5 separate regions of the Homo sapiens genome follow, and regions 2, 3, 4 and 5 are each linked to region 1. The links are contacts of gene promoters, found by promoter capture Hi-C in blood cells and fetal thymus (Javierre and others, 2016). All regions are on one chromosome and are shown on one strand. The core of a region is centred on a gene start or on the middle of the fragment in contact, and the rest is flanking DNA. Distances in the headings are between cores, read along the strand shown. Region 1 holds the start of RAD21-AS1 (RAD21 antisense RNA 1). Region 2 overlaps TRPS1 (transcriptional repressor GATA binding 1). Region 3 overlaps TRPS1 (transcriptional repressor GATA binding 1). Region 4 holds the start of EXT1 (exostosin glycosyltransferase 1). Region 5 overlaps TRPS1 (transcriptional repressor GATA binding 1).

Region 1 (2,854 bases), core at 234-2,733:
TGTAACGGTGAATAAGTTACTTCTCAACTATAAACTGGGATAATATTCATCAAAAAAGATTATGAAAATTAAATACAAGGGCACACCTAACATAGTGCCACTGCTGATGCGAAAAGTAACTCTGAAGACAATCTTGCAGCAAAACATTAACCAGCCAGTATAATCATGCCTAACAACTCTGGTTTGACATTTAAACTAAAAACACAACCTTATTTCTCAAGAATTAGAAAATTTCCATTCTGTACCAAACTGTAAAAGCGTTTCTTAGAATTTGTATGTTTCACAAAATAATTCACCAGAAATTCTTTTGTAATTCTGACTTGTGTATAAAAAAAAGCACTATGTCTATTAGTTATGCACTGCTGTCACCTCAACTATACAAACTGTTAACTTATTTGAAGATCAGATATGGCGTATGTCCTCATCAATGCCTTTCCAAAAATAATTAGTTGCCTCCGACATTAACAAAGGTATTTAATGACTTCACGATTTGAGAAACCTTCTCCTGCCTGTCTCCAAAATTCTATAGACTCGCACTGCCCGCTGGCATTTACACCCAATTTAAGAAAATAGAAATTTTTGCCTGAAAACCAATTACTCTTCTAACCAGTATAATGACAACAAAGATTAACTTTCCCTTGCAAAAAGAAGCCGATAAACACAAGCCTTTCCCAGAAACTCTTCGCACAAACGCTGTTTTTTTTTTCACGCTGAAGACACTAACAAATCAGAGTGACCAAGTAAATCCCCCAGGGTTTCCCTCTTACAAATTTGAAGAAGGCCGCTAAGTCTGGCAGCACAACCCGACAGTGTCACCCCACACTATCAAAGCGGATCATTCGCAAAAAGCCTTTTTCAGCGACGAAAAGGGCATCAAGCATTTATCAGAAACACACACCTCCCCCAGAGCGTCTCTACAACACCCGATATCCTTAATCACTTTAAAGAATGATCAGAAAAGTTCAGGGGAAAACCAATTATGCAAATATCCTTGGAAAAAGAAGCAACTTCCCTCCGTCTCTTTTTCCACGCGTCTGTGAAATATTCAGCATTCCCAACGTAAAAATTATCTTTTTAAAACGGGAGGGCAGCAGCAGTCACTGGCCGAGGGGCACCCGCCGACCCCCCGCCCCACCCCGCCCAGCCCCACCAGCTCCGCACTTTCTTGAGCCCCGCACCCGAGTTCGGCGGAAGGTTGCTGCTCCCGGGGCTGGCACCGCGGGCGCCGGGCCCGCCACCGCCTCCTCCCAGACAGCCATTTTTACCCGCGGAGTAGGCGGCCCGGTCCCCAGAGCGGGCTCGTTCAAACCTCCTCCCCTCCCTCCGCAGCCCAGGGTTTCCCCGGCCTCCTGGGGGACGTGAGATGGACCTGCAGGGTAACAGCCTTTGTAGATCTCAGAATGGATCAGAATCATTTGTTACCGAACAAGCGATGATGCGGGCCCAAGCTGCATGGGTCCGGGCCGAGGGCGGGCCCGGGGCGAAGGGGGCTGGGCGGGTGGCGCCGCCGCTTGGGCGCCGGGAGGGTGGCAGCACGCGTGGGCGCGGCGAGGGCTGCCTTCTCCCTCGCCCTCCCGCCCCCAGGAGTCCGGCTCCCCGACGGCAGAGCGGCGGGGAAAGGGTGGGGGGAGGGAGCTGGAGGAAAAGAAGGGGTCGGCCGAGTCTCTTACCTTGCTCTCCGCTGGGAGTTGGGCGGGCTGGGTGGCCCGGGGAGGGGAAAAGGGTCGGGGGAGGGGGTGGGGAAAGGGGGGAGCCCTTGCGAGGTGTAGCTTCCGAGCAGCTCCCGCCGCCGCCACAGCCGGCGCCTCCTTTCCGATTCACTCAAACAAACAAGATGGCTGCCGTTACGCCGCGGCTCTTCCTGCCGCCCAAATCCTCGGTTCAAATCGGCAGGATGTTTACGGTCAAAATGGTACCTGTGCGCCTGCGCAGCCAGCCCAAGCCCCCCCCTCCCCCCAGAAGGAGCGGCGCAGGCGCAATGACTATTTCCTTTTCTTTGGAACCCGCCCTCTGTTTGTGGAGTCCACAACTGAGCAAGCGCAAAGGTGATTCTCTTGCGAGGGTCTTTGAGAGTTGCGGTGTTAGCCAATAGCGTAAGATAGCGCACGCGCAGTGCTTTCCAGTGCGGTGAATATTTGCGTTTAGCTTTATTCTTGTGCTTGTTTTAAAGAAAAAAGCTGTCGTGGTGCAATTTTGTGTGCCCCCACCAAAAAATTCATTTTATGGCTCTATAGGGATGAAAGTAACATAAAAACCTCAAACTAATTCCATAAAATATAGAGGTTCATTTATTCAGTCAACCTATATTATAGAGGGTCTTCTGTTTGCTACACGTTGGGCTCTGGATATAATGATTAATATAACAGAGATAATAACTGCCTTTTGGAAATTTTCAGTATTGCTTGGGAGGAATCTTAAAATTTCTTATCTTAAAAGACTTACTTGTACCACGAAGAAATTTACTTTTGTTTTTATTGTAGAGATCTTTCCAGTGATGAAAGAAATTGAAGAGGACACACAAAAATGGAAATATATTCCATGTTCATGGATTGGAAGAATCAATATTGTTAAAATTTCCATACTACCCAGAGCAATCTACAGATTCAATGTAATCCCTATCAAAATATCAATGACATTCTTCACAGAAAGAGGAAAAAAATCCTAAAATTTATATGGAACCACAATAAGACCAAGAATAGCCAAAGCAATCCTGAGCAAAAGAATAAAGCTGGAGGCATCACATTACCTGACTTCAAATTATACTACAAAGTGATAGTAAACAAAACAGCATGGTGCTGGCATAAAAACAGACACATAGACTAACGGAACAGAATAGAGGACCTATAAATAAATC
Region 2 (2,854 bases), core at 243-2,742, 1.4 Mb before region 1:
GTAGTTGATATTCAATAATTGTTGATATTCCATAATTCAATAAGTGTTGAATATTATTTTATTCTTATCTCTATCATGCGCCACTAGGAGACATCGAAGGCCATGTCCCTCCCCTCTTCCCCTCCAAAATAGAATTAACCAGCTGTTGACTACACACCAGTAGACCCTATGGAATATACTGAATTCAGGAGCTAAAACAACTTAAAAATAGATGGTGGTTTGCAATAAACACCTTTAGATTAATAGCCAGACTCTTACCAGGAGCACAGGCTGGCCAACAATTGAACAAGACCAGGGAAAGCACTCTGCCAACAGAAAGCAATAGTTTACCAATATCCTGGCCAACTTTTGTTTCAAATAAAATTGTGAAGAATCCGTTGAAATGGGCTGTACTGCATGTCTTTGCCTGCTTTAAAACAGTCCTCTTTGCCCTCAGATTTCTTGCCAAAAAACTGAAGGGACTCTATCAGGTTCAGCCAAGCACCCATCTTATAATCACCATAGAGCTTGGAAACAAAACCTGTTTACCCTGCTTATTAAATTCACTTCCTCAACACATCAGCAATGATAATGGAGACCAGTGTAAACTAAACTGGCATCTCTGGCTAAGAGCAATAGAACAGTTTTTGTTCCAGGACATGAGGCAATACATACTCCAGTAATCATACCTTGCACTGAGATATGAATGCACCTAAGACTTATCCCACTGACAATGTCGCCACATAGGGAGCTACCCGATATATCAGGTAATGCTGCTGTGCTAAACACATTAGCTCCATCTCTTCTGAGATGTAACTGGTGATTCTCAGAGTGAAAGAGCAGAAAATCACTATTTCCCCATGTATATCCCACTCTTTATTCATACAGATTCTTTACATCTCAAGGTTTTAGAAATTTATCACACAGATATAAAACCTATTACACAGATCTGAGGACCCCATCTCCCTTCTTTAACTAACCCCATATTTGGTAGCTAACCCTGTATTTGGTAAAGGAGCAAACCAAACACCCTGTGTCATAATGAAATTACATAATAGAATCAGAATTGGAAAAACCCAGATTTCTGGAGTTCTAACCACGCTGTTTCTGTAATAATGTTCTGCCTTTACAGCAAATATGCATTTGGACAGCTAAAAATATGGTTGAAAATTTATGTCTGCACTGTCTTTTTTTTCATTCCACGTGAAAGTCATTATTGTTAAAAGAACTACTCAAGTCTCTCAGAGCTTCTATTTTTGCCATCCTGTATGTGTTTTCACCCTTCCTTCAGCTACAACAATGGCTGGAAAGTAGCTCTATGGGGACTTTCTTCTATGCCAGTGCCAAAATCTGACACTGGAAGGAAAAAAATACTAAAAGGCCTTTTGGAGGCACAGTTAAACAATTTTAGCACCTCTTAAACTTCAGTGTGACAGCACAAGAGTTGATTCTTCTAATAAATTTGTTGCATATTTTATTTATATAATATATTTAATAAGCAGATTTATTCTGGGATAGGTTCATATTCTAAAAATAAAAATATCAGCGATGAAGACCTTTCTAGAAAAGTCCTAAAAGCCAAAAGTCTCAGCTTCTAGGCATTTAATTAGAGAGTCAGATACAGTTATTAATATTTCATGTATTACACCTTTTTAGGGCTGCCTTTATAATATATAATGGTTATTTTGGGAAAAAACAGAAAAAAAATCAATAATTCTTTTCATAGTATCTAACATAATAACTGGTTTATGAAGTGTTGCCACCCTCGAGGCAGCTATATACAATTCAGTGGTTCCTCGATGGTTTCTCACACTCTTGGGGATCATACAATCTTTTGGTGAAATGTATGACACTCTCCAGAAAAAAATAAAGTGTAAAATATTTACAAATAACTTTAACATGGTCAAAAGCATGTCCCTCACAAAATGTATCCAAAGATTTCCTGTGGATTTGAGTGCCGACTGATCCAGATCCCAAGGTTAAGAACTCCTAACACATATTATCCCAGTTCAGATTTACGGTGAATTACTAATTACTATTACTCTCCTTTTATTGATGAAGTACAAAACTGACAATAGTTCTTTGACTTATCTAGCATCAAAGAACACATTCTGGTCTCTAAGTCTAGGCAATATGACAGGATCATATTCTAAAAAGCATTTTTGGCCAGGCGTGGTAGCTCATGCCTGTAATCCCAGTGCTTTGGGAGGTCAAGGTGGGAGGATTGCTTGAGGCTAGGAGCTTGAGATCAACCAAGGCAAACACAGCAAGAACGTGTCTCTACAAAAAGTTAAAAAAAAAATTAGTTGGGTGTGGTGGTATGCATCTATAATCTGAGCTACTCTGGAGGCTGAGGAGAGAGGATGGTTTGAGCCCAGGGGTTCTAGACTGTAGTGAGCTATAATCATGTCACTGTACTCCAGCCTGGGCAACAGAGCGAGACACTGTCTCTAAAATAGATAAATAGAAAATTAATTAAATAAAAAAGAATTTTTGAATCAACTATTTAATAGAATACTCTTGTTTGACTATCTTTGTCCCTTTTTAAATAATCATCATTGCACATATGTTTGCAGGATAACATATGATAGGCCTAGTCTCATTATCTGATATCCTCAGAATGATCCTAAGAGGCAAGTATTATTATCATTATTATTATTATTCCCTCCACTTTATAGATGAGAAAACTGAGGCTTAGAAGCAATTTGCAACTGCTGAATAGTAGGGCTAAGATATAAACCCAGGTTGCCCTCACTTCAAAGCCACAGTGAACCATGTTTCAGGCCTTATTACTAAAGAGGAGATTGGGGAATTTTTACCAAAAATATTACACCATATCCTGGCCTTAAAGAACGCTTATCTCTTCAAACCACCC
Region 3 (2,854 bases), core at 143-2,642, 1.4 Mb before region 1:
ACTTTTACCCACTGATTTTCTGAAGGAAAAAATACATTTAATTTTCTATTTTTGCTTGCAGGAATATGGAAGAAAGGTAAGCATGAATTGTCACCTAAAATTGGAAACTGCAGTGAGGTTGATACTACTTTGGAAAATTCTCTAATTCTGTCTATGGCAATAAATAGGGGGCTGCACTAATACATATATAATGTACATACATACTTTCTTCTTGCTGGCGAACAGAGGTCCATATCTGGGTAGCAAGCATCCAAGTATGGTGCGTGTGTGTGTGTGTGTGTGTGTGTGTGTGTATGTGTGTGTGCATGTGTGTGTTTGGGGGAAGGAAGGGGTTACACAGCATAGTGCAAAATGAGAATTTAAGTTATCAACATTTAAAAATTGGGTGATTTGACTGGGCGCAGGGGCTCACGCCTGTAATTCCAGCACTTTGGGATGCTGAGGCGGGCGGATCATTTGAAGTCAGGAGTTTGAGACCAGCCTGACCAACATGGTGAAACCCTGTCTCTACTAAAAAAAAAAGGCCAGGCGCGGTGGCTCACGCCGGTAATCCCAGCACTTTGGGAGACTGGGGCGGGTGGATCACGACGTCAGGAGATCGAGATCATCCTGGCTAACACGGTGAAAACCCATCTCTACTAAAAAAAATACAAAAAAAATTAGCCGGACGTGGTGGCGGGCGCCTGTAGTCCCAGCTGCCAGAGAGGCTGAGGCAGGAGAATGGCGTGAACTTGGGAGGCGGAGCTTGCAGCGAGCCGAGATCTTGCCACTGCACTCCAGCCTGTGTGACAGAGCGAGACTCCATCTCAAAAAAAAAGAAAAAGGAAAAAAAAATAGCTGGACGTGGTGGCATATTCCTGTAGTCCCAGCTACTTGGGAGGCTGAGGCAGGACAATCGCTTGAACCCAGAAGGCAAAGGCTGCAGTGAGCTGACATCATGCCACTGCACTCCAGCCTGGGTGACAGAGTGAGACTGTCTCCTTGAAAAGAAAAGAAGTGGGTGATTTGACATAAAAATCTATACTTTCTAGGTTTTGTTGACAGTTATAATGTCTCATATTACTAGGTTCATTTTCTCACATGGCAAGACATAGCTGAGGTGCCTGTGACTGCCTCCTTTAGAAGGTGTATTCCTCACTCCACAAACCTCTTGGCCTTGACATTTGCACAATCTGCTCGGTTCTCATCAGCATTAATTTTGCTAAAATAACCTTCAAGTCCTTTGATATTAATTATCCTAAGCCTTTCTGTCTTTACTGCCTTGGTAGTCTGGAGGTAGTGGAGCCTGCTGGTCTGGGTTCAAATCCTGCCTATGACACTAACTAGCCATGTGACCTTGGGCAGGTTGATTAGACTCTCCTCAATGCAATGTCTTCATCTGTATAAGCATATAATAATGACATCCACCTAGCAGGCTGGGGTGAGGACTAAAGGAATTAATTCAGTGATTGGATAACATTAAGTACTCAATAAATATTGGTTATGATCGTTCCATTTCAGAAATCCATCCTTTCCTCAAACTCAAACTCAGCAATCCCACACCTCCTGTGACTGGCTGACACCAACATTTGGATGAGCATATAAAATGTATCTCAGTGTCTAATATATCTATAAACAAATACTTCAACTTGAGTATTTTGTCACCTTTCTAAAAACATAGATTTACAATGTATTCAATATAGATCTAAAATGAAGATCTCACCTCTCCCCAAACATTTAAAGATCCCCATTATTTAGAGAAAAGCAACCTAGGGCTCTCACTCCTTCGCCATGTAGTTTATCATTAGCATCTTATCTTCCACTAAGGTCCCCCATCCTTACCCCTTTGATCCCTCTACATGGGATCACATGCCAGCTACAAAGACTGTGTACTTGCCAGTTTTTATAAGGAATGTGATTTCTTACCATCATGTCTGGTGTCCAACATGGTACATACAATAGAACAGGTGCTCTGATAAGGAATGTGATTTCTTACCATCATGTCTGGTGTCCAACATGGTACATACAATAGAACAGGTGCTCTGATAAGGAATGTGATTTCTTACCATCATGTCTGGTGTCCAACATGGTACATACAATAGAACAGGTGCTCAATACATTTTCGTTAAATAAATAAATGAAGAGTGAATCCAACTGATGTACGTTCTTCCTATCCATCTTTTTAGGTCCAGGTCAAAGTACTTCTTTTAGCTCCTCAAGATATCTCTGTCTGTCTTCAATCTGTTCATTTCATTTTATTGGTAGTTCTAACATTTTCAAAGTATACCTTTTTCTACAATGTTTATAAACTTGACTATATCTCCCACTAACCTATGAGCTTCTAGAGGGCAAAGAGCACCCTTTTTTGGGGGAGTCTCCCCAGTATGTCTTTCAAATCATCAGTCCTCAATTAATAAAATGAATTGTGTCTCATCATCTCAAAACTCAACAATTTTTTTAAATGGTATTTTCCAACAAAGATGATTTTCTTCCCCTTTTCATCATTCAGTGTGACTCCACCATCCTGAAATTGGCACCAACTTCCTCCACCATATCCAATTAGTCACCAAGTCCTGTAGATTGTTTCTAGTATTGAGGTTTTCCTTCTATGAGGGGATAGCTCCTTGCACTTGTGTCTTTGTTTTCCAATCCACCAATGATATCATTTCTAGGTTAAATTTCTGAAGACAACCTAATTATATCATGTCTTCGTTTATAACTTTCATCTTTTCACAACTCAGTGGATAAATTCCAAAATCCTTTGTGCCACATTCATAAGGCTCTTCATAACCTAGATTCCTCAATTACCCATCACCCTTCTCTGAACCCTCCCAGTCAAACTAGTTTATTCTAAGTTCCCTCAAACAGACCTCAT
Region 4 (2,854 bases), core at 122-2,621, 1.2 Mb after region 1:
CGGAATATAAATTAAAAATTAAATGATTCCTACCATTGTTCCACAAGTGGAGACTCTGCACTTTGGATCTCAAATTGTGCACATACTGAGGTGACAACTGGTCTCTGTCTAAAGTATCCAGACTCAGGACAAAGAGGCACGCCTGGCTGGGGTCCGAGGTGTAGAACCTGGAGCCCTCGATGGCCGCTAGAATGTTTTGGTAACTTTCGGCGATTTTCTCCCCTTTTTGCTGTGGGTATACGTAGACTTTGAAGCCGTTTTTCTTGCAAAGGGTGAAATCGAAGCAGGACTCCATGCGGCACTTCTTGCCTTTGTAGATGCTGGAGTTGGCATCTCGCTTCTGCCGGGGGGAAATGTGCACGCTGGAATCCTCGTTTTCCAATTGATCCCAAGGAACGAAGGGGCGCAGAGCGTCCGGGAAGCGGGGCCAGAAATGATCCGGACTGGGGTGGTGCAAGCCATTCCTACCGCTGTGTTCTTCTCTCCGGCTGTGGCTCCTCGATGCCCTAAACTGCAAGCCTCCGAAATAAAACAAAAGGGCGAGACAAGAGCCAGCTGAGAGCAGGATGAAATAGCGTTTTTTGGCCTGCATGTGTCCTGCCTGGGTCAAGAGGATTGTAAATAAACACAAGAATCACCCAAGTTTCCCAATCAACACTTTCAGCTCCAGTCCGCCATCTTCCCGCCTGTAAAGACTTCAAACTCTCCGCTCCCACCTTCTCTGGATGCCTTTCCCCAAGCCGTGGACTGATCCAGCGCATGTGGGCGATTTCTTTAACTTTCTCCCCTTCGGTCTTTCATCTTTGGGTTGCACAATGCACGGGAGAGAGCGGGGCTGAATATCTCGCACCCAGGGCGGGCGAGCAGCGGACTGTAATTTTCTTGCATGCAACAAGACGGAGGAAAAGAAAGAGAGAGGGGAGAAAAAAAAAGCTCCCGATACCCAATCAATGGCAAGACGAAGTGATTGCCTTGCCTCTCGGATTCCTCTCGGCAGCGTGGAAAATGAGCCCCGGGAAGGCAACTTCAACTCATCCACCACTCTCCGTGCAGAGCACTCCGGTTCCAACAAGTCAGCCGATCCCGGGTTCAGCCGGCTAGTGCATCTTGCAGCTGGGGCGCCGTAACCTCACAAATCCCTGCATCTCTCTTTATTCCCTTCTGCAGCGGCTCCAAGACTCCGGCGGTGTTTACTCCTGCGCTCGCGGGGCCGGCCCCCGGGACGCGCGGCGGCCCGGCTGGAGGCGGCGGCGGCGGCGGCGCTGGGTGGCGGCGGCGGCGCGTCCTCCCCGCGGGCAGTGCCGGCCCCGAGCAGCGCTTCGCAGGCCCCCGCGCGAACGCTGCCGACCGCCGCGTTCGGTCGCCGAATGTTACCCGGTTCTGAATGTTACACTTACACATTCCATTCCCGACACGACAGCGCTGACCTCATCCATCCACGCAGCCCGCGCTGCCATTGGCCGAGCGTCACGTCCGGGGGGGGCGGTGCTTCCGCTGCGCCCATTCATAACCCCCGGCCGCGGGCCGAGGCGCCGGCGCGGCGTTGGGGGCGTAGGGGGCGCAGGGAGCCGGGGCTCCCGGGTTGCAAGCTGCCGGCGGGCTGCCGGGCAGGTGGAGCGCGGGACGGCCCGGTGCGAGCCCCGCGGCCCCTCGGCGCGCCCAGGCCCGGATCTCGGCCTGCGCCGTGCCGGGGACCAGAGGCGCCTGCGGAAACGCGGCGGCCGGGGAAGGAGGCACCGGCAGGGGCCCCGTGCCGCGCGGCCCCGGGCGCCCTGGAGAATCTGGCCTCCTGGGCTGCCTGCCGGAACGCCTAGAGAAAGATGCTTTGAAGGAGGGAAGCAGGGAGGAAAGGAAGACTTCATAGAAAGCGACCGCCGATCCGAAAGCTGCCTCTCCCAGCCCTCCTTCCACTCTCCGAGACCCAGTATTTCAATTTTCTGCTAAGCATTAAAACAATCTCCCCTTACTCCTCCTCTACATAGCACATTTTTTTAAACCAAAGAAACACCCCAATGCCCAACAATAAAGAGGAATTATTACAATCAAGAGGAATTGTTGCAATTCTTCATGCCTGCCTCTGTGCTAAGAGTGTAAGACGGCTATCCTAAATCCTCATTATCTACTTAGGCCGCCTTGCCTGAGCCCCCTCTGTCTATTATGAAGAAAGCTTCCAAGAGATCCAATCACAGAGAAAAAATAAATTTTCTAATGGCTGCAGGGAAACCAGTTAATTTAAGCTTGCCCCAGTCCTCAAAGTGATGTTATTCTCTTGGTGGTGGTGGTGGTGGTGGTGGTGTTAAAGATATCTCTTAAGGACATATGACTGGTAGAATTGCCAACTGTCCCAGCTATAGAAGGAACACTTGCATCAGGAAAACTACCTTATGTACAATTAGTGCCAAATAGTTGGTCCTTCCCTCACTGACCTCCCACTCCTTGGCCCAAGCTCCTGCCACTCCCAGTGGAAGAACTTCATTAGATAACTCAGGTAACCGAGGAGCAGTCCCGCTAAAGATCCTCCAGGTCCACAAAGATGTGCTAGGCTCCCAAACAGTATCTCTGGTCAAAGTCAAACTCCCTGGCCTCAGATCCTGAACACTGCTTTACAGAAAACACCTCCCACCCTCTGGCCTAGCTAAAGTCTCAGGGCTCGGGCAAGCTAGACAGTTGCCTAGGGCAGCCGGCTGTTTAGTGATTGTTTATTATGGGAGTGACTGAGAGCTAGGAGCAGACACTTCCCGGCTTCCCTCAGGCTGCAAAAACCCCAGCGGGGTGTGGATGAAGGGCAGGGTTATAACAAGGCAGTATGAAATGATAGAGTGGAAAGTTTCAGACCTCTGTTGTTTCAGATTTG
Region 5 (2,854 bases), core at 117-2,616, 1.2 Mb before region 1:
ACTCTACTAGCAACGGAAATAATGAGCTCTCTCAGAATCAATTCCACTTTGCAGGGACTAGCATGGGTAATGTATTAGAGATACTAAGTTTGCAATTTGGTATCTTAAATTTATTTAGGGCCTAATGCATTTATTCCTCTAATGAAAATGTTTTCTAGTAGTATTCAAGATATATGTGCAGAGCTGTTACTTTTTACAGTAGCAGCTTATTTGTTTTTACACATAATTATAATTTAAGAATGCCGATCGTCTCATGCAAAGCAGTCGAAAAACAAAAACAGCCGACAAAACCAGAGAAAGCTTTCTTTATTCTAAAATGTCTTTACATTAAAATATGTCAGATTAAAGTCTCCACTCTACATACAGATTTAATTTTTAACCCTGTGTCTGGGCAGTATTTTAAATTTTCTTATCACTTTTGGAGAATTCCACAGAACTATCTTAAGCTAGTTTCAAACCTGGTAAAAGTTGTGAGTTCTTTTTTTTCTTTTTCCTCCCATCAAATTTTGAGATATAAAATGCATCATGTCTAAATGAGAAACAATTAAATGTCATATTATTTTACACCATTCATAATTTTCAACTAATCACAAAGAATACTATATGATTTTCCAACATCACTGTTTTTTTGAAGTGAAAATGATTTATGAAAGGATTTCCCTCTAACTACTCCTTAGAAATGACCAAAATATTTTATCATAAAAAGGTGTGACAGGAGAACTGAAATCACTGATCTCTCAATTTCTGATGCATCAAAACATTTCTGAAAACACAAGAGAAAATAAAACAAAATAAGTGCAAAATTCATTTGCATTTTACAGGCAATAACAAGGTTTCTGGAATAAGAAAACCCCGAAAAGATAAAGTACTTCCTCTACTTTCTGATAAGCTTTAAAAGAAAAAAACTAAACTAAATATTTCAAAATCAATGGACTTCAAGTAATCCAAGAGAATTTGGAAAACATTTCTCTAAAAACTAATCCAGAACACAAGGTGTCAGTTTGGAAATAATGGAAGCATATTTCGTTTTAAAAATCTAAAACATTTTAAAGACAAAAATTCAAGTTAACATCCCAGTGATTAACTCTGGAACTGCCTAGCCAAAAACAACTTTCGGCACTTAAAACATAAAACTGTCAGTTTCCTCTGCTTGGAGACAAAACATACAAAAAGCAAACATTCACTGTTATATTTTCCTAGACATGAAAGATAGAACTAACTTTCATAAAAGGTGATCACTCTGAGTATTTCTACCTGATATGATATTCATGTCGTAGCTCCTAAAAATCAGTTACAAATTCCAAACCTCAGAACTATCCTTAATAGATGGCTACTATTCTAGTTTGCGTTACTCCCTCGACTTGATGGAAGTACAATCATTTATTGAACTACACTAGCTCAACTCATAAATACGTTAAGAAGCCTGTGACTGATGTTATTGAATTTATAAGCTACCAGAAACAAGTAAACTCCTTACTGTAGACCTCAAAGAGTTGATAACATGACACTTGGCATTGTACCTCTTGGGAATCTAAAACATACTGATGGTGAGAATCTTTCAAGTATTCTTCTGCCCTAAATCCAGAAAACATGACTTTCAAGCATCATCCATGGTCGAATGGTCAAATTCACATTTATAAACTTGGAATAGAGAGTTTGGTGGAAGTACTGCATAACTAAAATTGACTTTTTTTAAAAGCCAGAACTATGTCACAGTTGGTGCTTATAATTGTTTCAAAATTATACAACTTTATTTAATTCCATGCAACGCATTTCCACATAGAAATGGAATAGCAAACTCCTACTCAATAGCAAACAATAAAATAAAATAAAATAAAGTATGTAAGCTTTTTCCTCTTCTTAGACACTGTCCCCAGAATGGAAAAGTTATAAAGAAAGGTAGGTAAAAATCCTGCAGCTTACACATTTTTCCACTGAGAAGGCAAATCCTTACTCCTCCAGAAACTAAAATATTAGACCCCAAACAGTGTAGGGGGAAGAGGGGTAGGAAGTTGAAAAAAAGAAAAAAATGATGATAAAGCAGGGCAGAATAAGCCAGAGGAAGCATGCTTGGTCTCAGCATAATTTTCTTTAGCATCCTAAAATCAACGACATCATGCTGCCCATGATCTCTGCTTACTCTTCTGTAACCCAGTCAGAGGATTTTCAAAAAGGAAGAAATCTAGTTGTGCTTCCAAATGCCAAATGAACTTACAGGACCTTCCACTCCTGAAGGAAAACAGCACAGTAGCGCACCAGAAGCTAGAGAATGCCTTGAGTCACGCAAAGCCGGAACTGATGAGTGTGACCCCAGTGGGGTTTATCTAAAATTCCCAAGTACAACAGGCAAAGGGGTCAAAGTTTTCTATGTCAGAGATATATAAATAAAGCCATATGCAGCAACCGTTCCTTATGTTATCATGGATTATACAGTATCCTAGTCCCCCTTCTGTTCAGATATATATACATCTCTCTTTTAAAGAAGGAACTGAAAATGGGAAAAATTAAAAGGAGGGAAACCTGCTAATACTACTATCTACCCCCAGTTCTCCAGCTCTAATCATTATTACTCTCATTTTTAAAGTGTTAGTATTGCCAAGGACACACTGAATCGTTCAGGAAGTGAGAAGAATATGTATGTCCATAATTATGTGCTAACAGTGATATACTGAATTATTCTGGGAGTAAAAAGTACATGATGTACATAAATGTACACAAATACATGTAACACTAAATACAAATATGTGTAACACTAAATGTACACAAATATGTGTAATGTTGAATAAAAATATGTATAACACTAAAAAGCTGAATGTTAGACACAGTGAAGGTGCAAGATTGTGTACACATATTT

The links. The method cuts DNA at HindIII sites, captures the fragments that hold promoters and counts their contacts. A CHiCAGO score of 5 or more calls a contact.
Region 2: a fragment that was not itself captured here is called in contact with the fragment with the promoter of RAD21-AS1 in region 1 in 1 of 17 cell types (neutrophils); the score reaches 5.1 in neutrophils.
Region 3: a fragment that was not itself captured here is called in contact with the fragment with the promoter of RAD21-AS1 in region 1 in 1 of 17 cell types (neutrophils); the score reaches 5.1 in neutrophils.
Region 4: the fragment with the promoter of EXT1 here is called in contact with the fragment with the promoter of RAD21-AS1 in region 1 in 6 of 17 cell types (naive CD8 T cells, total CD8 T cells, naive B cells and 3 more); the score reaches 9.7 in naive CD8 T cells.
Region 5: a fragment that was not itself captured here is called in contact with the fragment with the promoter of RAD21-AS1 in region 1 in 2 of 17 cell types (naive CD4 T cells and non-activated CD4 T cells); the score reaches 5.9 in naive CD4 T cells.

Annotation. Positions count from the first base shown.
Region 1 is chr8:116,872,941-116,875,794 of GRCh38, forward strand. RAD21-AS1 (RAD21 antisense RNA 1) reads left to right here and starts at 1,484. Exons shown (of 2, transcript NR_033886.1): 1 at 1,484-2,045; 2 at 2,481-2,854. It overlaps RAD21 (RAD21 cohesin complex component), which reads right to left and starts at 1,836. Exons shown (of 14, transcript NM_006265.3): 1 at 1,671-1,836. MIR3610 (microRNA 3610) reads right to left here and starts at 1,860; the gene lies at 1,788-1,860. RefSeq lists silencers at 1,144-1,193, 1,354-1,673 and an enhancer at 1,784-1,833. The HindIII fragment of the contact is 5,133 bases long and covers 1-2,854 here.
Region 2 is chr8:115,424,847-115,427,700 of GRCh38, forward strand. The region is part of intron 5 of TRPS1 (transcriptional repressor GATA binding 1); the gene reads right to left. Among named protein-coding and RNA genes, the nearest start is that of TRPS1-AS1, 83 kb to the right of the region's middle. The HindIII fragment of the contact is 3,991 bases long and covers 1-2,854 here.
Region 3 is chr8:115,442,288-115,445,141 of GRCh38, forward strand. The region is part of intron 5 of TRPS1 (transcriptional repressor GATA binding 1); the gene reads right to left. Among named protein-coding and RNA genes, the nearest start is that of TRPS1-AS1, 66 kb to the right of the region's middle. The HindIII fragment of the contact is 3,221 bases long and covers 1-2,854 here.
Region 4 is chr8:118,110,455-118,113,308 of GRCh38, forward strand. EXT1 (exostosin glycosyltransferase 1) reads right to left here and starts at 1,372. Exons shown (of 11, transcript NM_000127.3): 1 at 1-1,372. The coding sequence starts at 592. RefSeq lists silencers at 1,225-1,314, 1,415-1,794. The HindIII fragment of the contact is 5,337 bases long and covers 1-2,165 here.
Region 5 is chr8:115,656,022-115,658,875 of GRCh38, forward strand. All of the region lies in intron 1 of TRPS1 (transcriptional repressor GATA binding 1), which reads right to left. Among named protein-coding and RNA genes, the nearest start is that of TRPS1, 12 kb to the right of the region's middle. RefSeq lists an enhancer at 2,141-2,435. The HindIII fragment of the contact is 958 bases long and covers 888-1,845 here.